Regions from separate parts of the Homo sapiens genome. Here all the other regions are linked to region 7. Evidence: promoter capture Hi-C in 16 types of primary human blood cells and fetal thymus (Javierre and others, 2016). All regions are on one chromosome and are shown on one strand. Each heading gives the region's core, a stretch centred on a gene start or on the middle of the fragment in contact. The rest is flanking DNA. Distances are from core to core; before and after follow the strand shown. Region 1 overlaps PTK2 (protein tyrosine kinase 2). Region 2 overlaps PTP4A3 (protein tyrosine phosphatase 4A3). Region 3 overlaps PTK2 (protein tyrosine kinase 2). Region 4 overlaps PTK2 (protein tyrosine kinase 2). Region 5 overlaps PTK2 (protein tyrosine kinase 2). Region 6 overlaps PTK2 (protein tyrosine kinase 2). Region 7 holds the start of DENND3 (DENN domain containing 3).

Region 1 (3,275 bases), core at 663-3,162, 350 kb before region 7:
ATACGAAAAATCATGATACAATTCTATTCTCTCTTTTCTGTATATGCTTGAAATTTTCCATAAAAAGTTTTAAAAACTCAAAATTCAAAAGCATAGTAGGTACTTAATATTTATTCATTTCCATGGTCTCCTCTTTGTAAAGGCATCAAAAATATTTTGTCTTGACTCATGCAGTTTGATTTTAATCCACAATTATTGTATAGCTATAAGCTACAAACGGGGTGGGGGAAGACTTGAGGTCAAACTCTAGAATTTATATTTTAAACTTTCAAGCATTCCCTTTAAAATTATTTTCTGCAAAGAAAAAAATAACTGGGCCTTTTGATGTTAGCAATATTTATTTTATATTTGGTAAGATGATGATACTTGGGCTTTTTGTGTTTTAATAATATATTTTTTTAAAAAGATTGAGAAGTTTATTAATTATTGTTAATAAGTTTCGCCAGAGGATCAAGATGGTTCATAAGCCAAGTATACCCAATACTGCCAACTGTGAAGCATTTATTTTATAAAGACAAAAATACATTTTTGTTTCTAATACTCTCATATAGTCTTTTCCCCTTTATAGCGTGGGGGCTGCTTGGGAGAAGATGGGAATACTCTCTTCTGGAAACAAAATTTATAAGACTGAGCTGGATTTCTGTGGGCTGGGAAGAGTTTATAAAAACAAAAATCCACTTTAAATTTTTGTTGTACTCATTATTGCTCAGCTTTTCATTTGGCCTTTTTAAAAATTTGAAAGTGCCTCAGGCTACCCCTTGCCAGGGAGGTCTGTGAGTTTCTGTCTGCACTGTCTGCACTGCCTGCAGCTGAGACGAGTTCAGCTCAAGGGTGAAGGAGTGGTTCCGGGTCCTTTTTCAGGATACTTCTTTACAACATACGATGCTGATATTTCAAAACCTATATGACCTCCAAGTATTCTTTTCAACTGCTTTAGAACCCAGAGAAGAAACGGTATGACTACGAAGAACACCCCGATCTCAACAGTGGCAAAGGGAGTTCGAATGATGTAATGGTGGGAGAGGGAGGGCTATCGGAAAGAAGGCAGCACAGCTGGGCTATTTTGATTGTTCACTTCCTTATTCATGCACAACACGATCAGCCAGTCTATCCATATGAAGTCAGTGACAACTGTACGCTTCTCAGTGGTTTGGAGTCTCTCCTAATACCAGACTGACTACCAGAATAATTTCCAGTGAGCCAGGTACTAGGAACAGATCAATAACATTCAATACCTACTACTTTGTGCACATAAAAATTATTAGTAGCATTAATTTGATTAAATTATGTCACAAAGCATATAATTTACAAAAATGAATTTATCTTTTAAAATTTGGTTGTTTTTTTTTTTGGGGGGGGGGACAGGGTCCTCTCTTTGTCACCCAGAATGGAGTACAGTGGGGTGATCTCAGCTCACTGCAACCTCCAAATCCCAGGGTCAAGAGATCCTCCTACCTCAGCCTTCTGAGTAGCTGGGACTATGGGCACACGCCTCCACGCCTGGCTACAGTTTTTGTAGAGACAGGGTTTCACCATGTTGCCCAGGCTGGTCTCAAACTCTTGGGCTCAAGTAATCTGCCTGCCTTGGCCTTCCAAAGTGCTAGGACTACAGGCGTGAGGCACTGTGCCTGGCCTAAATTTAGTTTTACTTTTTAATTTTTTCAGTGTCCCGTAGATTTGGTAGGGAAAAAAATGAACTACTTATATAATAGGTGACAATGCTCTCAAATTAGGGCAAGGTTTTTTTTTTTCTTTTCTTTCCCCTTTTAATTCCTAAAAGCTAGCATTTAAATCAAGCTTTCAGCAACAGATAGAGACTACCTTGGAAACCCACAGCATTATCAAAATTGAAACTAGAGTGTAAAACTAGACAGAAGAACCTTTTTCAAACTTGAATACAGGGCACACTTCTGAGAGTTGGAACTGAGTCAGCACTATCCTATTCCTAATAAATGAGGGGAAAAAACCTTAATGGAATCACACGCAAACTCTTTCAAAGTATTATTTCCTTCCACACATTTATATTATCAAGCTTTAGAAATGAGTCAACATAGGCTAGGTGCAGTGGCTCACACCTGTAATCCCAGCACTTTCGGAGGCAGAGGCAGGCAGGTCGCTTGAGCCCAGGAGTTTGAGACCAGCCTGGGCAACATAGGGAGACCCCGTCTCTACAAAAAAAATACAAAAATTTGCTGGGCATGGTGGCGCACACCTGTAGTCCCAGCTACTTGGGAAGCTAAGGCAGGAGGATCACTTGAGCCCAGGAGGTTGAGCTGCAGTGAGCTGAGATCAAGCCACTGCAATCCAGCCTGGGTGACAGAGGGAGACCATGTCTCCAGAAAAAAGAAAGAAATGAGTCAATATGGTCTAATGTAAAGAGAACAAACCTTCTAGTCCAAGATCAAGATTTCCATCAGGCTATTACTTACTAGCTATGTGAACTTGGCCAAACCACTTCAGCTCCGAGTGTCTTTATTTCTTTATGTGTAAAGTGAAAATATTACGAAGACTCTCATGAGGTTTAAACAAAATGATGCCTGTGGATGGGCCAGGCATGATCTCTAAGACACATGCATATGTAAATAACTACCTGTATTTATAAGTGGCATAGTCATGAATAGGTAACAAATCTAGTGTATCAGAGACCACACAGAAAGAGATAAAATGCAGTAATTATTATAGACTATACCACCTTATATTTTATAGAACTTTACAGTTTACAAACCACCTTTGCATATACAAGTGAGCTGTTTTAGAATTTGTAATGAAGCAGCTTAATACAAAATACAAATAACATTTATTTCATTAAATGTTTTAATAGTTCAGAATAATTTCCAGTCACTAACCTGAAAAACCTAAAAGTAATCTTGAATAAAGGAAATTATGTTGCATGATAAACAACTGAACCAAAATAATGTTAGAAAATTAAAAATTTATTTAAATTGCAACAAATACTGAAAAAGTATCACAAAGGGCCAGGCGTGGTGGCTCACGACTAATTTTAATTCCAGCACTTTGGAAGGCCGAGGTGGGTGGATCACCTGAGGTCAAGACTTCGAGATCAGCCTGGCCAACGTTGTGAAACCCCATCTCTACTAAAAATACAAAAACTAGCTAGGCGTGGTGGTGCACAACTGTAGTCCCACCTACTCGGGAGGCAGAGGCAGAGGCAGGAGGCTTGAACCTGGGAGGCGGAGGTTGCAGTGAGCCAAGATCACACCACTGCATTCCAGCCTGGGTGACAAAGTGGGGGGAAAAAAACTATCACAAAGTAG
Region 2 (3,179 bases), core at 269-2,768, 270 kb after region 7:
GGTAGAATCAGGTCAGCAGCCTTGATCCACGTGCCTCAGGGATTAAACGGGTGACTCCTGACACGCCCCTGGGCAGCTGGTGGCCCAGGGGTGGGGTGGTGGCATGCTTAGCTCCAAGTGGGCAGAGCAGTTTCACCCTGCCGGTTCCCGGAGGGAAGCCCTTTATGAGGGAGGCTTCCCTGGCCCTCTGTGATAGCGGCTCCAAGGGCAGCGTGAGGTCCAGGCTAGCTGGTCACAGTGTGTGCCCGGGCACCCTCAGCCAAGACAGAAAGGCACGTGCTGCACCCCCTCTCTCTGCCTGCGGGCTCTGGGGTGTGCCCCGCACACGATGGTGGGTGTTGGGCATCCACCTAGTCTGTGGACCCTGGGGGCCCTGCTCCCAGGTTGGAGCAGTGTCCTCGGCTGCAGACCAGAGGAGGTCACTGAACACAGGGTGCCTGTGGCCTTGCACAGACAGAAGCCGCCTGGCAGCCCTGTGCAGAGCCGTGCTTCACTGAGTTCCTGCAATCCTCCCAAGAAGTTCGTTAACCCCATTTCTCAGATGAGGAGACTGAGGCCCACAAAGGTGGAGTTGGTGCAGCCCCTAGCCTGCGGGGCTAAGCAGAGCCTTGTTGTCCCCATCTGCAAAGGGGGCGTTGGAGCTGCTGTAAATGGGCCCCGAACCTGTCACCTGAGTGGAATTAGGCATTGGGGATCTCCCCATCACCACGCCGGCCCCCCTCACTGTGGTTACGAAGGAGGAGAAGCTGCCCTGTGTAGGAATTCCTGGGCTGTTTCCAAATAGCCCCGCTAGGGAGCTGGTCACCCCTCAACACCCCCAACGTGTTCTCCAAGCACTTACTCTGTGCCAGGCCCAATGCTGGACCTGGAGATGGGGCATGGCTGGCTGGCTGAGCGGGGCAGGTTGCGGACAGGCCCCCGCAGGCAGTCGGCGTGATGGGAGAAAATGCAGGCGGGGATGAGATGCAGCCTCCAGGTGGTTTCCTCAGCTGCCTGCTCCTCTCTGCCTTTGCCCTCCTCCCGGAAGCTTGCGCTGACCACTGGAGTAAGGCTGGGGGCCTCAGCTGGTCCCCTCTCTGTCCCAAGTAACAGCCCAGAACATGGTGAGGGTGGCTGGCTGATGCAGTCAGGCACTGGACATGGGAGGCAGGAGGAAGGCCGGGAGGTGGGCAGCTTTCTCAGACAAGTGGGCAGTTTGGATGGCGAGGAGGTCTTGGAGGCACCATGGGTGGCTGGGCTCAAAGATGACATGAGGGCATGCTTAACAGATGCTTAACCAAATCCTGAATTGGCATTGGCCAATTTCTGTGGTGTAACTACTCCCAAGCTACACAGACGTGACTTTACTGGCTGAGGACTTGGGCAGAGGTGCACACAGTCAGACTGAGAGGGGGGCATAAGCTGGTGTGAGCCCTCCCTCTCACCGCCAGGGTGGGCAGAGTGTCCGCTGGTGCCCAATGCCTATGCACGTGACCTCCTTAGGGACTTACATCCAGATGGCGGTGATACAGCTTGGGGAGGCCTCTCCCTGGTTGGCAGGTCCTGGCGAAAGGGTGAGTTAAGTGGAAAGTGTACCAGGCTGGTGTCCAGGTGGCATTTGGCCAGAGGGGCTGAGCTGGGAGCTCCTGGGCCTGGGGCTGGCAGATAGTGGTGATTTTTCGCCCCCCAAGACCTTGGGCTTGCCTTGTTCCATGAAGGTCCCAAATCTGACCAAAGGCTGTAACCAGATGGTCACTGTCCCAGACCACCCCAGGGCGCTTTCTCACCTCGAGAGCACCGTTTCTCCCCACCTCCACCCTGGCCGCCCTTGCTGTCACCTACTCCCTCTGGTCCCTGGCACCCCTCCCTGCCTGCAGTGGTGTTTCCTAGCAAGTGCAGCAGCCCGAGGCTGGGCTAGAGGCAGGAGGGCCTGGCCTCCCAGTGTCTTGCTGGATACTTGGTTTCTTGCCCCTCCGTTTCCACACCTGTAAAATGGGAGCAATGACAGGTCTTCCTGGCAGGACAGTGGTGAAGCTTGGTCACACGGGTGAACATGTGTGAGGTAAAAAAGACTTCCCATCCCTCCTTCTGACCTGGACCGGCTCGCAGGACCCATAGGCAGGGACCTGGGCAAGGTCCGAGGGCCGATGAGCCCCGTCCTCTCTGCACAGTTCAGAGTTGGGTGGGAGTGGCTGTGGGCTGCAGGAGGAGGTACTGCACTTCGCACAGTTACGTGGTCGGGTTGGCATCGCCGCCGCCTGACTTCGGCGCCCCGCGAGTTGGGTGTGTGCGGTTGGGGGCGGCCCAGAGTGTGCCCCACGCCTGCCAGTCGGGTAGGCCAGCCTCCCTGGAGAGAGGGGGGCCTCCCCAAGGTGGGACGGGGACAGGGACGGGTGCTTCCTTCCACCCAGGAGCCTGAGCAGAGGGTGGAGGGTCCTGGCAGCTACCTACGGCAGCTGAGAGCTGCGCTCTTTAGCCGAGCGGGATCAGGGCTACGTGGACACAGCCCGTGCCAGTGTGGGTGGGGCACGAGCTGTGGGTTCCGATGGCCCAGTAGGCGTTCACCTGGCAGAGAGTGTGCGCGTGTCTCCCCTCCTTGGGGCGCCTCAGGTCAGGACCCTGAGAACCTCACTTATCCTTTGAGCTGCGCCAAGGCTGTTGTACAAAAGACAGTTCAGAAAATAAGGACAGGCTGTTCCTCCCAGCCAAGGGTGTGGCCCTAAGGACCCCTAGGTGGGGCATCGCTTCCCGCCAGGCACGTGCCACTCAGTCTTGGGCTGCTTTAGTGGCAGCCTCCTGGTTTGGAAGCGGAACTGAGGGTCAGGGATGACCACATGGCTCAGGGCTCAGCTGGGGTCCTGAGAGTGGGCCCTCAGGTTTACCTTCCTCCTGGAGGGGAACTGGGGGCCATTGCCCAGTGCACCCCCACTTCCCCTTAGGTGCGTGGGCCACCCCTCCCTCCTGCAGCCCCCGTTCATCTACCCAGGATAGGTGCATGGGCCACCCCTCCCTCCTGCAGCCCCCGTTCATCTACCTGGGGAAGGTGCGTGGGCCACCCCTCCCTCCTGCAGCCCCCGTTCATCTACCCGGGGTAGGTGCGTGGGCCACCCCTCCCTCCTGCAGCCCCCGTTCATCTACCCAGTGGGGATGTCCCCTGGCTCCTCTCCTGGCATCTTCCCGGGATGTAGGGGTGCTCCCAT
Region 3 (3,364 bases), core at 392-2,891, 320 kb before region 7:
AAACATCCAGAATTCATGTGTTTACTTCCCATCTTCACAGTTGTCACTATAGTCCAGGCCACCATATGATATTCTGCTTAGAGTCCTGCCATTTTTCCTAGTTTCCCTTCATCCATGCTACTATATAATGTCCCTACCTGAAAGCCAGATCATATCACTCCTCTGCTTAAAAAGGTACAATACAAAGCATCATAACTTGCATGATTTACATAGCATGATTTCTATGAGCAAACTGTCTACATGATTTGACCCCTGCCTGCCTCTCTGACCTAATTTACTGTCATGATCTTGTCTTGATGATATGTGCTCTAGTTTCGTTGGGGTAGAACCATTTCAGGGGGTGGGTTGTTTTTATAACCAAGGCTGCTAGATGTCACATGAAGCATGGGTAATTCCTGCACAATAAAAAATTGTCCTGCATCCTCGACGGCTTTCAAATGTCCTGGTGTGTATTTATGTCACTGAAAAATCTGACTCTAGAAACAAAGTCTGTTTAAAACCACAAAGTATGCTCTGCATTGAACTTTCCAGGAATGCAACTTACGCGTAATGCAAGGGAATCCTATACTATGCTGTTTTTGAAGTTTTATTAAGAGTTCCTCACCATTTTGGAGAATGACACCACCAAGGGCAAGACTTGCTATAGTTATTTTGGTCAGTGACAAAATGCACCTGTATCAGTTTGCATCTGTAGCTACTGCATGCACGTACGTAACAGAGGATGTCGGAGGCGCCTTCCAACAGACCGAGAGCTGAACATCATTATGTTGGTGGTGACACATGAAATGAGGAATACTATCTCAATTAGTCCTTGTTATTGCTATCTCATAATTAAAAAAAAAATTCGAAGGCACAGTAAGACATCTAGGTTATGGAAATTATATTTTTTAAAATTGTTTTTCTGCCTCACTCTGGCATTATTCCCCAAGGTCAGTCACATAACTTTTCCCTATCACTTTCCTACACCACTTGTATGGAGTGGCTTCTGATTGTTCTCCCTCCAATTAAAAGTCCTTACTAAGTAGGTGCGTCTGACTAGAGTGCCTTCCAATGTATTGTGCTAAACTTTAAGATATTGATAGAGATTTTAAAAAATTATTTGAGTAGGGGAATAACATGCTCTGTAATTTTAATTTCAGGATAGCAAAAGATAATTTAAAACATCTGTTATAAAGAGAACAGGGTTAAGAGGGGCTGGCACTGCCCACCTACTCTAAATCAAACACTCAGATACTCTCTCACGCCACCCTACTATAGCCCTTTAGCACAATCCCATTATTTATATTGCTTATTTTCTTCTTTATATTCTATTTTATAACTAGAAGGAAAGCCCCATGAGGATGGGAGTATCATGTCCACCTTGTCCACCACCAGATTACAAGGAAGCAGGGCCATGCCTGGCATGTAAGTGAATGAAGTATGAGAAGTTATTAGGTGCTAGACTGTGTTCCAAGTATCAGATATACAGCAGCAAACAAGGATAACATGAATCCAGACATTAAACAAACATTACACAAGTAAACCATTACAACTGTGATAAGGACTATAACAAAGCAATACACGGTGCTGTATAAAAATATCTAATTTATTGGAAAGGAGAGGAGGGAGGAAATAAAGCCTCAGAAAAAGTTTCACTGCGAAAAAGAGAACAAGACTTGAGCAACACGAGCTTAAGACTAGGTATATTACATTCAGATACAGTACTGCACCAGCAGAATCTAGCCTACCACCTAGCACAAGGCAGCTGCACACAATATATAAGCAAACTGACTAAGGTAACACTCAAGATAGGCATGTAAGTGGTCATTACAAGGGCAAAAAGAGAGGGAAAGAGCACTTGAGAAGGAGAATCTGAGATGTGCTGTTCAACTGGTGGCAGGAAGCCACACACAGCTATGGAGCACCCAGTGGTATGTGGCTCCTCCAGGCTGAGATATGCTGGTAGGGTACAATGCATGCCAGATTTCAAAAACTTGGAATGATAAAAATAAGATAAAGTCTCAAGAATTCTTACACTGACTATATCTTGAAATGATGATACATTGGATATACTGGATCAAATAAAATATATTAAAATTAATTGCACCTATCTTTTTATCTTTTTAAATGTGGTTACTATAAAATTTTAAATCACCTATGAGGCTTACATCGTATTGCTGTTGGACAGCACTGGAGAAGTCAAGTAAAGTAGATGAGGACTCAGAATTACCCAGTGGGCTTATCTACAGGAGGATCACTGTCATCATTGGCAAGGCATTGAGGGGTGGACGGTGGTAGTGTAATGGTAGTAGGCAGGAAAGGCCTGGTTGAAGCAGGTTGAAGAGGGAGTGGGAAGAATTAAAGACAATGCAGTTAGATAATCTGTCAAGAAGTTTTGCAATAAATGACACGAAAACATGAGGTACCAGGGAGAGAGAGGGACACAGGGCTAAAAGAGGGGATTTTAGGATGGGAGAAACTATACATTTTTCTATGCTGACAGGAACAATCCAGTATGTTAGAAATGTCTGCTGCTACAGGAAAGAGTGGGCAGAACTGAAGAATTACCATGAACAGGTAAGATGGGATAGAAGCCATTACATAGCAGAGGGTTGGTCTCATTCAGGAACATGAAGTTCACCCATGGGAGGCAGAACAAATGAGGAGGAGGAGTGTGGCAGGCAGAAATGTGAGAAGTGCAGTGCAAGGAATCTTCTGGGGGCTCTATCCTGATTGCTCCAATCTTGCTTTCTTCTACTTTATATAACTAATACCTCTTATTTCATAGGCACAGAGGTCCTTATAAACTCAAAAGGAAAACATATATTTTCAAGGAACATTTATAAAAATCATACGCTTGGCCATAAAGAAGATCTTAACAACTGTGAAACAGTTAACATTTAAAAATCATATTACCTGCTCATAAGCCAATATGAAATTTTTGGCTCATAATATGCTCATAGAAATAAAAATGAGATAAAACCCCAGGGCTACTTGAAACTTAAGTAATATTCTTCTAAATAATGCTATAATGAAAAAGAGAAATAAAAATAAAATTTTTGTTCTTGTTTTTTTTTTTTTTTTTTTTGAGATGGAGTCTCACTCTGTCGTCCAGCATGGAGTGCAGTGGTGTGATCTCAGCTCACTGCAATCTCCACCTCCCGGGTTCAAGCGATTCTCCTGCCTCGGTGTCCTGAAGTAGCTGGGACTATAGGCGCCACCACGCCTGGCTAATTTTTGTATTTTTAGTAGAGACGGGGTTTTGCCATGTTGGCCAGGCTGGTCTCAAACTTCTGACCTCAGGTGATCCACCTGCCTCAGCCTTCCAAAGTGCTGGGATTACAGGCATGAGCCACGGTGCCTGGCCAAAGATAAAACTTCAAAT
Region 4 (3,265 bases), core at 724-3,223, 470 kb before region 7:
AACTGCAGGTAAACTCTTATCTCAAACAGTGGTTCTCAACTTGCAATGGTTCTGTCCCTCCTTCCCCTGGGAACCTTTGGCAATGTCTGCAGACAGGTTGGTTGTCACGGCTTGGTGGGAGTGCTACTGGTTTCTAGTGGGTGAAGGCCACGGATGCTCCTAAACCTCTGAGAGTACACTGGACAGGTCCAACATCAAAGTTCCTTACAAGGTATGTAGAGCACTTTACCATTTACACTGGACTTAGCTCACTCTCACAGTCACCACTTCAAACATGAGGAAATGGAAATGTAAGAGACTCAAGAATGCCAAAAATTAGAAAAAACTCACAAGGATGGCATTCCCTTGACATTTGCTTCAGATGAAGTAACTGTCACAGATCCAAAGATGAAGCTGCTTTTGCACATAAGAGCATGTATTTACCTGGAAAAAATTCACTCAAATCCCTCCCTTTGGAGTCTGAGTCCCTAGTGCTGGAGATCTCAGTTCTATTTGCTCCCTGCTCTGTGGCTCACAGAGATTCTAGCAAGACTAGGGTGGGCCTGGGAAATGCTAACAATTTCCTTGACAAGTGAATTATGCTTTGAGTCCGAGTTAGCGGAATAGTGAGACCCTGCGCAGGGGAAGGTTCTTTCATTGAAGACCATTGCTACTTCCATCCTGAGCTCTGCATTTAATAGGTGACGATGGAATGAAAAGGTTAACTTACGCCACGCTACCCTTCTGTGGTAACATCCTTGACTTGTTTAGAAGATTAAATAAAAAAAAAGAAACTAATTAGTGAGAGGCTTCCTGATAATTATTGGGAACTCTCTTGTATGTTATCTTATCTGACAAGTCACCTGAAAAGCCATCTGAAGAAACAGAACCAAAAGAAAGGATATTACAACAAGAACTTTACTGGTAACACCTTTTTAATAGGTCAAAGTAACTGTACAGTTCATTATATTCTTCCTGAGAATAATTTATATCCCCCAACAAACTAAAGGGAGGGTATATTTTTTCAAAATTAACAGAATGGATGGTGTAACTGGACATCAAAAGAAAACCAAATTCCTGTTTTGCTTCATTCTCTCCTGGGAAGACAGATACAAGGAAGGGTTAGTTAACTCCAGTGGCTGTAAAATAGTCAACATGGCTTTAATCTTTCTTTATAAATTATATAAAAATGGAAAAAGGGGATGGTTCTGGAACTTCTCCTCAATGCAGTTTGGAGGTGCTCTGGTACAAAGCATTTCTGCTTCCAAGAGAAATAACATTGCTACAAAAAACTGGCACATTATTCTGTGAAAAAAGACATGAGTTTTTAGTTGTGTTCTACAGCTAGTTCCCGACCCAATGCTTCACATATCCACACGAAAGTAAAAGGCAGGTAAGACAAAAAGGGCTGTAGTTTTTTCTGAAATAACTCAAGTCTTCAAAATATAGCTTTTATATTCTTTGTAAAGTGGGATTAGCATATTGCAACTGAAGGGTGTTCTAACAAACAAAAATTCCAGTCTGGATAATAATTCTATGGTAGACAAAAGAATTCTCAGCCTCTTGGGTTTCCTGGAATTCTTTGCTTCATGCTCTCCTCTTCCACTATGCAGCTAAGGTAGTTTAGGAATTAAGATGTCACCCCTTGGCCATCCCCCTTTAGAACGTATCTTAATGTGAACATAAATTGTTCTTCATGATGCTTAAAAGCTTACATATAATTTTCATTCTTAGAAAAACGCCACATTTTGGATCCTGGATTTTTCTGAATATCATGATTGAAAAAAACAAAACAAAAAATGAACCCAAATCAAAGTGTGGTTAAACTTATATGAGAAAGATTTTTCAACCAGATGGTCATTCAAAAAAGTTGGAGCTGTAAGTGCTGGCGACTGAGGACACAGGGTTAATTCCTCGCTGCTGGTGGAAGGCTAGAGAACATCTTCAAAAGAGGGTAGCAAGACGTGCTCCTAGGGGAGGCTCAGTGTGGTCTCGTCTGCCCAAGCATTTTCAGTCTTGCTTGGTCAATGACATCGAGTAAGTTTTTGGCATCCACAGCCAGGGCGTGAGCAGCAGTCAGCATTTGCTTTTTGTACTCTTGCTGGAGGCTGGTCATGACATACTGCTGGGCCAGTTTCATCTTGTTGATGAGCTCACCCAGGTCAGAGTTCAATAGCTTCTGTGCCATCTCAATCTGAAAGACAAGAGATAGGTCAGGAGAACTGTTTTCAGTGATTTTTTTTTTTCTTTTTTAGAGAGATGTTCTTACTGTGTTGTCCAAGCTTGCCTCAAACTCCTGGGCTCAAGGAATCTTCCTGCCTCAGCCTTCCCACTAGCTGGGAACACAGGCACATGCCACCAAGCCCTGCACCAATGAACTTTTCAGGGAATTTTTATGAGCCTTTCTTTCAGTGCCTCCATGAGAAGAAAACTTTATTTCCTGTAAATAAATCTTCCTTAGGAGCAATAGGATGTAAAAATCAATCTTTAAATTTTTTTTTTCTTATTTTAACTTCCCACACTACATTCATGCATTTAAACATTTTTTTTACTTACTTTAGAAATTCAGCTATTATAGTGTGCCTGTTTGTGCATGCCGATTCACACATGCAGATCCAGCATCTTGTTCCTTCCATTCAAAGCCTTCCCTGACACCATGACTAACTTCGTCTCCATTTGCGCTGTTTAGACTTTATTAATCTCAGTGACTGGCAGGGCTTTTGTTTCATAATAGAACCACAGAATCTGACAGAACTTCAGAGATCATCTATTCCAAACACTTTCACATTAGAGTGGACAACTGAGATACAGTAAGATGTGCTGAAGGCCACACAGCTCTTTAGTCTCCAAGCCAGGACAAAAGCCTCAGTTCTGACTTCTGGTCTTATGCTTTCTACTATGCCAACTCTATTTCAAGACCTTCCTTGGCTATACAAAAAATGGTTTAAGGATGGTGGCAGGGCGCAGTGGCTCACTCCTGTACAATTTCAGCACTTTGGGCGGCGGAGGCAGGCTGACGGCTTGAGCTCAAAAGTTTGAGGCCAGCCTGGGCAACATGGTGAAACCCCATCTCTACAAAAAAATACAAAAAGTTAGCTGAGTATGGTGGTGTGCACCTGTATTCCAAGCTACTCAGGAGGCTGACGTGGGAGGACGGCTTGAGCCTGGAAGACAGAGGTTGTAGTGAGCCAAGATCGTGCCATTGCACTCCAGCCTGGGTGACAGAGCCAGACCATTATGTACGCCCCTCCCCCCGCACACATTAAGTCAGGGCAGCAATGGTGGA
Region 5 (3,494 bases), core at 163-2,662, 280 kb before region 7:
AATTGATAAATAAAGGCCGCAATGTATAGTTATCATCTTACCGTATTTCTAGACAACCCAACTTCAAAGCAATTTCCTGGTCCACTTGATCAGCTATCTCTAACATATAATCGCTCTTCACCTACAACAAAAGGAATGGGAAAAACAACACTGTTTTAAAAGAAAAATATTAGATATATGCATTCAATAAATGTTTCCTGAGTACCTTTCATATAGTTTACATTATGTCGGTAATTACGCTTGATGTTAAAGATATAAATAAATGTTTCCTGAGTACCTTTCATATAGTTTACATTGTGTCGGTAATTATGCTTGATGTTAAAGATATAAATAAATGTTTCTTCAGTACCTTTCATATAGTTTACATTGTGTCGGTAATTATGCCTGATGTTAAAGATATAAACGTGAGTTATACCAAAAAATAATTAAAGAAATAAAATGGTCTCCTATTAAGAAAAGCTCATATATGACCACTTAAATGGGACATTAAGAAACAACGAATAGGGTCTGAATCATAATAACCTTCAGATGCTCCACACCTTTCCCATGCTGTCAAAAGTAAAAACAAGAAGGGAAATTTCCATTTCTACAAAAATTTGCAGATGTATTTTCTGACCTCAAACTACAGTTCCAGCAGCATATTTTGGACTCCAGTGAAAAGGCAAAGGATTTACGTACTTCAAAATCCATTTAACTGTGCAGCTCAGATGTTTTCATCTAACCATCAATTTTAAGTGATTAATCTGCAAAGTAATACAAGCTTAAAGTCTAAAGTAAAGAGAAGAATCTAATGGAATTCTTGAAATGCCTTCTAAACAATGAATCAACTCAATTTTAAAAGCCGATAAGAGTGATATCAATACGTGCAAGTAACTGTCACTGTGAACACATTTTCAAAGACGAAATGTGTACAATTTCCTTGTAGATTAGCCTGAAAAGATTAAAATCTGCAATTGATTTTGATGAGAGTACCCATTTTGAACTTCACATGAAATGTTATCCACCCCTCCTCCAAGACGCATCCCATTCTCTTCAGCAGTACACCTGTGTTACAAGAAAACCATGCTCAATTATTATATTATGAATTTTATCAACACAAAAATTTGTGGAAATTTGTCTTCTTTCTTGTTCTGTACTTTCATAATACCCTGCATTTTGCCTCGTTCCTGAAAGTCTAAACTATTTACTCTGACCCTTTATATAAAAAGTGTCTTGACTTCTACCCTAAAAAAATTTTCAAACATCCTGTTCTTCAATGACTGCCTCCTAGCCTGCTAGCCCATTTGTTCAAAGAGTCCCACCCCCAGTTAACTCATCTCTCACTCCACACCAATCTTTGTCTACTTCATACTGGATGGTTCCTCATTATGACCGTCCCTTGCAAAGACAACCAGCTCCCCTGTCTCCCATTATCCCTCTGTCTGAATTGCTTGGTAAACCCAAGCCACGTTGAACCTACCCACTCATCCTCTTCATGTTTAGATGAGCAGCTGGAGAAATCATAGTATAAACTCCACTTTCAACTCATGAAGACAAATCTCAAATGGCCAGTTAAAACTATCTGGAAATTGAACAATGCATGCCTAGGAAGCGCTACAATTCACTGATTTCATACTTCCTCCAGTAAGCCTGCCATATCTCTTTGTTACAGAGAAGATAAAACACATCAGATGAGCATACTCTCTTTAACCTACCAGGAATTTATAACCTAATATGCACTAAAAAAGTATGAACATTTACTCATTATTTTCTCTTAAAGTAGGAGAAACATTCCCTCAACCAGCAGTGGACAACTATGTGCTATTACTGATCTAAGGACTATTCGTCTCAAAACCTTTCTTTATTTTCTGCATTAGCATCTAAGGCTGGGTGCTCAATAAATATTTATTGAATGAATGCATAAACGAATGAACAAACAGTCATCAAACTGGAGGGTGGGTACATAAATGTTATTTTCCATATATATTTTCCCTCCTTTACAAGGAACAAGAGTTTCTACTCCTTCCACAAAGCAGGCACTCAAGACTGACCAACCGGAACTGAATTAATTCATTCAGTTAAGTAAAAAGCTTTAGGTCTAGAACTATTCGTTTAACTTCTACAAATAGTAGAAGCTCTTGTTTCTACAAAACAAAAAATAAGTCTCAATTTAAAACCTGTTTTGCATCATAAGTAGGTTTATTATCGAGCACAAAAATAAAGGCGCAAGAATTAAACCAAGATAGGTATTTAGATAGGCAGAAAAATACCACCGTTACTCTGATGGAAACATTCAGTGGCTTTTAGTTGTCTGATGCAGATTTCAGAGGAACTACTGCAGACCACCAATTACATGATGAGGAAAATGCACCATTACCAAATTCAATTAATCTTGAAGATTAATTGCCACAATTTTTAAACACTATTCACAGGTAGAAAAAATAATCAAATGCTATATTTCATCATCAAAACCAAATTCGCATTGTAAAAATGAAAAAGGGGGAAATTATAATAATCTTCATTTAAAAAATCTCATTTATGAGAATGAGTTCAAAGTTCTGAGAGTTGTTTTTCCTATAGCTTTAATCTCGATTATCAGAGCTGCATGATCACACACTGAAATCTATTTGTGGCCCGATGTGATCAAAGTATTCTGCAAAGAGTATAGATCTGAGATAGAATAAGGCATCACCACAGACCCGTGTCCTCCCCTCAAGCCCCAAAGCAGCTTCCCCTCTGCTGCCAGAGAGAAAGCAAACTCTATTCAGTGTCTCAATGCTCCCTGTCATCTAGGCTCTAGAGAGTGTTCTCTCAAGCCACTGGGCACGGCCACATCCTGAGGCTGGGCTTCAAGACTCAGAATTATGTACACACTTTGTTCATATCCCTTATAAAACACTTCTTGACCACCTGTCTTCCACTAACTCCCAGCAGAATTGCTATCATTTGTGAAACCAAACTGATCAAGCATTTAGGTTTCTATAAAGTATATATACCTAGCACCATGTCAAGCAGATTTACATGTAATATCTCATTTAATCATCAGAACATCACTGTGAGGTGGGTACTATTATCATCCCCATTTTATAGCCTCAGAAAAAGCCTAAAAGATTGATCAAAATGATAGCAGTAGATAATAATCCTACTTAAGGAGTATCCACCAGGGACCAGTTACTACGCTAAGCATTTTACGTATATTTCTGATCTTTACAATAATTCTTCAAGGTAGAGTTTATTAGTCCTATTATATATAAAGATCAGAAAACTTAACTTCGTGTTGAACACGTATTAAAGTCAGGATTCAAAATCCAGATGTATCAACCCCGAAAACTCCAGCTTTAGTTTGTACCTACTACTTGTCAACTCTTTCACAGTGCAGTCATTCTCTACTAGAATGAAGATTAACAAATAGGAACCACCTCTCATTTACCCTTGCATCCCCAGTATCAACCACAATAGATTCATATGCATCTCCTGAGGTATTGGAACACTGGCACTGTGTTGTACTCTCTTTT
Region 6 (3,494 bases), core at 880-3,379, 300 kb before region 7:
AGGCCAGGGCAATGGAAGCCTAAACGATAGCCTGGAAACATATCTTAAGATACCTGCACAAATTTCCTGCAGAGGAGGGTTTTTTTTAGGGGGGTGGGGATGGAGAGCAGTAGGGAAGGCATAACCAAGGAAAGAAACTTTCTAGCTTTTCAATTCTACTATCTTCTAAAGTCTTATCCTGTCTTCACACCTTTTGTTCACATTGTACTCAGTGTTCAGAAAGTGTCTCCCCTTATTTTACTCATCATATTGCTGTTATTCATTAAGTAGGATTTACCAAATGTTACTACGTGCCAGGTACAATGTCAAACAAAGGGTGTAGAGTGGAGACAGCAACAGATATTGTCTTTGCCCTCAACAATCTTAAAATATAGCGGAGGAAGGCAGATAAAATACAAACAAGTAACAAACTACATAATTAAAAATTGAGGCCAGGCACAGTGGCTCACGCCTGTAATCCCAGCACTTTGGGAGGCCAAGGTGGGTGGATCACTTGAGCTCAGGCGTTCGAGACCAGCCCAACCAACACAGTGAAACCCCATCTCTACTAAAAATAAAAAAATTAGCCAGGTGTGGTGGCAGGCACCTGTAGTCCCAGCTATTTGGGAGACTGAGGCAGAAGAATTGCTTGAACCGGGAGGAGGAGGTTGCAGCGAGTCGAGATCACGCCACTGCACTCCAGCATGGGCGATGGAGCAAGACTCTGTCTCAACAAAAAAAAAAAAAAAGAGAAAGTAGAATTAAAAATTAAGATACTAAACAGGGTCCCAAGATTGAAGGGAGTATTTTGCCATTTCCACTTTGCGTGGTGAGAAAAGAGTAGGAGAGGGAACATTGAAGCAGAGGTTCAGAAGGACCAGTCATGGAGGAGACAGGGCCAGTCCTCTACCGAACCTCTTTGGGCACCTGTCTCACTCTGGCTACACTCACACCATGGCACCTGTGACCTGTACCTGTGGTTCCGTTTTGAATATGGGGATCCTTTAAAAATCTAGAATGTATTGGACTCCTAAATGACAACAGTCACTCTTTTCCTAATTGTTTATACACATACAGATTTAAGGAGACTTTGCAATAATTCTGAGGCTTCATAAACCAGTGCTTCACAACTGAAAACCCCTGACCAATACTACTAATGTGACATAACCATCAACAGAACATTGGGTAGAGTACTCTTCTATCCAACAGCAATGTAAATTCACTAAAACTGTAGCTTACACTTGTTTGAATGTCTCCACTATCCTCCTCACTGCAGCACCCAGCAGGTTTACACACAGCAGCATCCCTTCCACTTAAGGGTCTTCCCATGCCTTCTCGGCTCCCACACCAAAAACATTCCAGGTCAAACTGAATCTCCCATTCTCCCAACTGCAAGAGTATGGGCCACCCACACCTAATAACTCTCTCGAAGGACACAATTGTGTCATTCTCTCTCATTCCCCTTCCACTGTGCCAAACTTCATTTAAAACTCTTTGTTCTCTTTCAAATCTGACTCAACCCACTCATGCCAATGGTCTGTGGGCTACTTGTAGACTGGGACAGTGTCTCGATCTGTAGTCCTGGCCTCAACCACACTAAATGGAGTATGCTCTGTTCCCTAATAATTCACTGTAGTATTTCACTAATAGATCAGGAAACTTGAATGAACACTGAAAAAGTCGAGCAGCATCACTAGAAAGAGAGCCTGAAATAAAGAGTATATTTTTCCTGTACTATTCTTAAATGCACGTCTTATTGCATTTCTAGAATGCATTGTGTTTTAAAGCCAACACCTTTATATCTATTTTTCCCATTAGATTATCAAGAAGCTATGTGAGAGAGGAAGGGATACTGTTACTTTCTGGACTCAGGGAAACAGTGACTAATCCTTACAGTCCTATTCTGGATGGGTTTGACAGAGAGCAGGACCCAGATATCTGAATACAGAGCTTTTGTCACAGATTGCATCTGATAAATTATACCAACACTCCGGCCCAATGATAATCAACATGACGTCGACAGTTCTCTCTCTTTTGGTCTTTCTAAGATTTAATCCTCTTATTAATCTCGTGTTAGAAATGGATTTTATCCCCATTTTACGGATGTGTAAACTGAAATACCAAAAGATGAAATAACTTATCCAAAGTTAGCTACATTTTCTCATAATGAGTATCTTCTCCTGCTTGGGCTTCAGCTGATGGGATGTAGAATAAGATCTTTGAAAAATAAAAAGTAAGAGCAGTAACATCCACTGTTGCTATGTGACAGGTACTGTGGTAAGTAATATATTTACTAATCTGTTAAATATTCACATCAACCCTACAAAATACTATTTTCTTCATTGTAGAAATAAGAAACCAGGCCCAAGACCCTGAGGCTAGAAAATGGCAGAGCTCATCTGAGCCAGACTCTGCCTTAACCCTAAAGTTTGTATCCCCTGCTGCGCTTGAAAATCTTGATGTGTGCTCTGGATTAGCTGGGGGAATCACACATTCAGAGTCCTCCCACCTCACTCCAAGGTGCTCTCCACGCTGGATATGGGAAGGATAAGAACTGAGGCTCTGCCAAAGCTACTAATGCGGGGAAGCATCCAAAGGGTTGAAACAAAAGACAGACCTTCAAAATGCACTAACATGCACGCACACACATACACACACACACACACACACACACACAATATTAATGATTCCACCACCACGATTATTTTACATATTGCTCCTTTTCTTCTGCATGTCAAAATATTTTAGCCTGTGAAGACCTAGATGACAGGAATAACTGTGCACATAACTTTTTTAGTTTTATGCTTAGCAGAGTATCAAACACAATTAAGAAGTAAAACCATGTTTTATGGGAGAAAGCTATACTAAAAACCTATTTGCCATTAATGTGACTAGAATAAATGTCAGCTTTTTAAATTATATATTTTACATGTAAGGAAGGAAACTACATTTTACTTTCCCAAAAGCAATTTACCACTGGGGAAAAGGTCTTGGCATAATTTTGTTATTTTATTATGATAAAGGAGACTCTAATTACCTTGACAGAATCCAGTAAACTCTTAGGAAAAAATCGCTTTAAACCAACATCTTTTCTGAAATATAAAAAGAAGCGTATTAACAAATAACACCACCAAATCAATTAATATGACAAACTTGCAAGAACATAAAAGCACTGTAAATTATTTATCCTTCCATATATTATTTAGGAAGGAAACAAGTATAATAATGCTTTAATTTACCAGTATATTCACAGGAAGGATGGGACAAATCATTTTCTAGATATGTACTGGAAACATGAATACAAGTTGGTTTAAATAGAAATCCTTTTGGTTTTTTCTTTTTTTACCTTTATTGTTGAAAACTCTTCTAAAATATTCCCTCTTTGTAAATTATAGTGTATTAAAAACTGTCCTTTTTCAGATATTTCTTGAAGGTTATAAACATCACTTCCAACTGGGTAATACTGTATTTGTAGAGAAAATAGCTAGCCTGATTAGTAAATGATTCAGGATATA
Region 7 (2,774 bases), core at 1-2,500:
CCTCAGCTCACCGATGAGAGCCACCGATGGTAGGCAGCCTCCAGGCCTGGGGGAGAACCAGCAGATCCTCACCATCTTTAGGTTAATAAGTGAAATAAAACCTGTGAGTCAGGCTGCAGTCACGGCCTCACCCGGCTCAGGGAAGGAGGGAGAAATTCCTCAGGGCTCCCTTTTCTGATGTTGCCTTGCTTTGTACTTACTGTTCCTTTTCCTGTTCAGCTGATGACAGATGTTTGACATTAAGCATTTTAGAGTTTTGTTTTTTAGAAAATAGAATCATAGATTATCAGAAGTGGAAGTCCCTTTGGAATAATTTCCCCTGGGTTACACAGATGGCTATGGCAGGGTCAAGGGAGGGGACGGTCAGCGGGGACTGAGCGCAGGCCCCCTCCAGGCTCTGCAGCAATGACCAGGCAGCAAGCCGGCCTCCCGGGCTTGTGGGCTGTCCTCTTTCTCTGGGGTCAGCCTGAGGCTGGAAGAGGCCCGTGGCCCACCGGGCATCAGGCCAAGCCTGGAGCTGACCAGGGAAGGGCCCTGCCAGGCCTTGGGCCTCTGACCCTCAGTCCTGAAGCCTCCCTCTAGCGGCGCCCACCCTGCTCCTTTTCCTGCTGAATTTTACTCAAGTCCGTACTTGAGTATGGCCGGCCCTAGGTTAACCCCGCAGAGTTATTAACCAGGAGTGGCTCTTTCCACCCCCCCTTCCCGCCGGCCCTTCCTGCTGTCCACACCCGGCCAACTCCACTGTCCTGGCAAGGGAGGGCTTCCTGGAGGCGGCAGCGGGCGGCGCGTCCGGCCTTTGTCCCCCCACGCTCTCCAGGGTAGGTCCAGGGACTGCCAGATCAGGGGACCCTTTGCGTCCTGGAGCCTTGGGGGCTGGATGACGTCGCCGGGCACCTGAGGACCCCGCCCATTCCTCCCTCGGTTCCCCAGGGAGCGGGCGGCCGGCGGGGCTGGGCGGGGCCGAAGGAAGGGGCCGCTTGCTCCGACGCCGCGCACGCGCCAGGGCCCGCAGGCGGGTTAGGAAATGACGACCGCGCGCGGGTCTCCAGCAGCACCCGCCCTAGGACCGGCCCCGCCCCCAAGTCCCGGTCCCTAGGGCCGGGCACGCCACTCCAGGCCCCGCCCAGAACCTCCCCGCCCAGTCAAGCCCCGCCCCCAAACTCTGTCTCCCCGCGGTATCCTCTGGGGCTCTCCAGGCCCCGCCTCGGCTCGGGCCCCGCCCCTCCAGGCCCCGCCTCCAGCCCCGCCCCGCAGACGGCGCTCGCAGCGCCCCCGGCCCCCAGGCGGCGCGGCTGGTCCCCAGGGGTCTGCGGGCGACTGCGCGGCTGAGGCGCCCGAGTGCGGTACTGGCGGCGGGCGGCGGGCAGCCATGGCGGAGGCCGCGTCGCCGCACTTGTCGCTGCCCTCGGGGCTGCTGGAGCTCTGCGCGCTGCTGGGCGCCCCCCGGGACAGTCTCCGAAGTCTCGAGCAGGTGAGGGGCGGGGAAACTGAGGCGGACGTGGGCCACGAGTCGGCAGCCGGGACAGCAGTCGGAGAGCGGGCGCCCGGGTGCCCTGTGGGTTGGCGCGGACTTTCCGAGGGCTGAGTCCCGGTCCCCCGGCGGTGACCCCGCGCGCCTGTGGCCGGGGATCGCGCCCGAGCTCAGGCAGGTGCCCTGGAGCAGCGCCCTGCTCCCCTCCCCTCTTCTCTCCTCTCCCCGCCCGGGGCCCTTGGTGTGAGACATGTCTTTTGAGAGCTGCGAACTTGGTCCGCCGGCCGGGAATCTGGGGGTGCCGCCCCTCGGAGAGTCTCTGGGGCCTCTCTCTTCAGTCGCTCCCATCTTGGGCAGGTGCTTCTGAAGGTGGGGTGCACCAGACAACGGGCGGAAGCCGCCGGAGCCTCACGGTCTAGCGGGCCCAGCCCTCGCTGCTGAAATGATTTCATTCTTTATGCTGGGATGTGTTGTCCCCTGAGTAGTGGGTTTTGCACCAGGCACAGAATAACGAGAGAGCAATCTTAGAGTTAGCCGCCGGCCTCGCGTATTCTGCATGAACCCCTTTGCGATGAAGCCTATAGCTATTTTTCTCCCTTGCGGTACCACCCCCACCCCCAACCCTTCCTCCATCTCTGCACCCTCGCAGCCAAAGTGACAACTTCATCTCCCTTCTGCTGGGAAAGCGGCAGTTTTGGAAATTCTCGTTTTCCTTTTTCTTCCCCAGCTTTTCTTAATTCTGTAACGCTGGCTTTCCCTGGAATCCATCTGTGTCTCTGGTTTCCTCCTGGTCCGCCTGTCTGTGACACCGTGACTGGGTCATGTTACCTAGAGATCCCGGCGTCACTGGCCAGCCGTCTGCACAGGTCCGTTCATCTCTTTGCAGACAACAGCATAGAAAGGCAGAGAGGCTTCTGAGTATTTAAATGACGCTGGGCTATCCAGGGAAAATGAAGACTGCAGGGCAGAGGGTGTCACCAGGAAAGGCAGATGTTCCTGCAAGTAACCAGATGAATGTCTGTGAGTGTCCGGGGAGTTTCCCCTGCTGGGCGTCAGTACCAAGCCAGTTTCGACTTCAGTGAAAAAGCATTCTCCTATGGAAATAGTTTCCTCGTTTCCCTCAACTTTTCCTTCCCTTCAACGCCCTGTCATGTCAGTAGATCCCGTTTGACCTCTGTCTCCTCGCAACGTCATCGATTGATTTGTCTCCCTACCTCGAATTTGCCAGATGGCATCTCCTCCTTTTTCTTCGAATAGGAAGTGACCTAGTTGCCGCTGTGGTCTCCTCAGCCGTTGAACGTCT

The links. Contacts are between HindIII fragments. The CHiCAGO score rates a contact against its expected background, and 5 or more counts as called.
Region 1: a fragment that was not itself captured here is called in contact with the fragment with the promoter of DENND3 in region 7 in 1 of 17 cell types (endothelial precursors); the score reaches 5.4 in endothelial precursors.
Region 2: a contact is called between a fragment that was not itself captured here and the fragment with the promoter of DENND3 in region 7, in 1 of 17 cell types (monocytes). The highest score is 5.5, in monocytes.
Region 3: a fragment that was not itself captured here is called in contact with the fragment with the promoter of DENND3 in region 7 in 4 of 17 cell types (naive CD4 T cells, total B cells, naive B cells and 1 more); the score reaches 6.4 in naive CD4 T cells.
Region 4: a contact is called between a fragment that was not itself captured here and the fragment with the promoter of DENND3 in region 7, in 1 of 17 cell types (endothelial precursors). The highest score is 5.3, in endothelial precursors.
Region 5: a fragment that was not itself captured here is called in contact with the fragment with the promoter of DENND3 in region 7 in 5 of 17 cell types (total B cells, naive CD4 T cells, naive B cells and 2 more); the score reaches 8.7 in total B cells.
Region 6: a fragment that was not itself captured here is called in contact with the fragment with the promoter of DENND3 in region 7 in 13 of 17 cell types (total B cells, naive B cells, total CD4 T cells and 10 more); the score reaches 13.7 in total B cells.

The regions. Positions count from the first base shown.
Region 1 is chr8:140,780,904-140,784,178 of GRCh38, forward strand. The region is part of intron 14 of PTK2 (protein tyrosine kinase 2); the gene reads right to left. Among named protein-coding and RNA genes, the nearest start is that of MIR151A, 50 kb to the left of the region's middle. The HindIII fragment of the contact is 235 bases long and covers 1,796-2,030 here.
Region 2 is chr8:141,392,653-141,395,831 of GRCh38, forward strand. The region is part of intron 1 of PTP4A3 (protein tyrosine phosphatase 4A3); the gene reads left to right. Among named protein-coding and RNA genes, the nearest start is that of ASTILCS, 1.6 kb to the left of the region's middle. The HindIII fragment of the contact is 986 bases long and covers 1,026-2,011 here.
Region 3 is chr8:140,805,687-140,809,050 of GRCh38, forward strand. The region is part of intron 10 of PTK2 (protein tyrosine kinase 2); the gene reads right to left. Among named protein-coding and RNA genes, the nearest start is that of MIR151A, 75 kb to the left of the region's middle. The HindIII fragment of the contact is 9,947 bases long and covers 1-3,364 here.
Region 4 is chr8:140,657,506-140,660,770 of GRCh38, forward strand. It overlaps PTK2 (protein tyrosine kinase 2), which reads right to left. Exons shown (of 36, transcript NM_001352702.2): 36 at 395-2,173. The coding sequence ends at 1,961. Among named protein-coding and RNA genes, the nearest start is that of AGO2, 24 kb to the left of the region's middle. The HindIII fragment of the contact is 572 bases long and covers 1,688-2,259 here.
Region 5 is chr8:140,846,558-140,850,051 of GRCh38, forward strand. PTK2 (protein tyrosine kinase 2) reads right to left here. Exons shown (of 36, transcript NM_001352702.2): 6 at 42-121. Among named protein-coding and RNA genes, the nearest start is that of MIR151A, 120 kb to the left of the region's middle. The HindIII fragment of the contact is 1,309 bases long and covers 759-2,067 here.
Region 6 is chr8:140,827,456-140,830,949 of GRCh38, forward strand. PTK2 (protein tyrosine kinase 2) reads right to left here. Exons shown (of 36, transcript NM_001352702.2): 8 at 3,017-3,071. Among named protein-coding and RNA genes, the nearest start is that of MIR151A, 97 kb to the left of the region's middle. The HindIII fragment of the contact is 8,465 bases long and covers 1-3,494 here.
Region 7 is chr8:141,127,339-141,130,112 of GRCh38, forward strand. It overlaps DENND3 (DENN domain containing 3), which reads left to right and starts at 1,251. Exons shown (of 23, transcript NM_001352890.3): 1 at 1,251-1,471. The coding sequence starts at 1,370. It overlaps DENND3-AS1 (DENND3 antisense RNA 1), which reads right to left. Exons shown (of 2, transcript NR_183310.1): 1 at 2,686-2,774. RefSeq lists enhancers at 1-678, 1,512-2,342 and a silencer at 797-1,656. The HindIII fragment of the contact is 7,380 bases long and covers 1-2,774 here.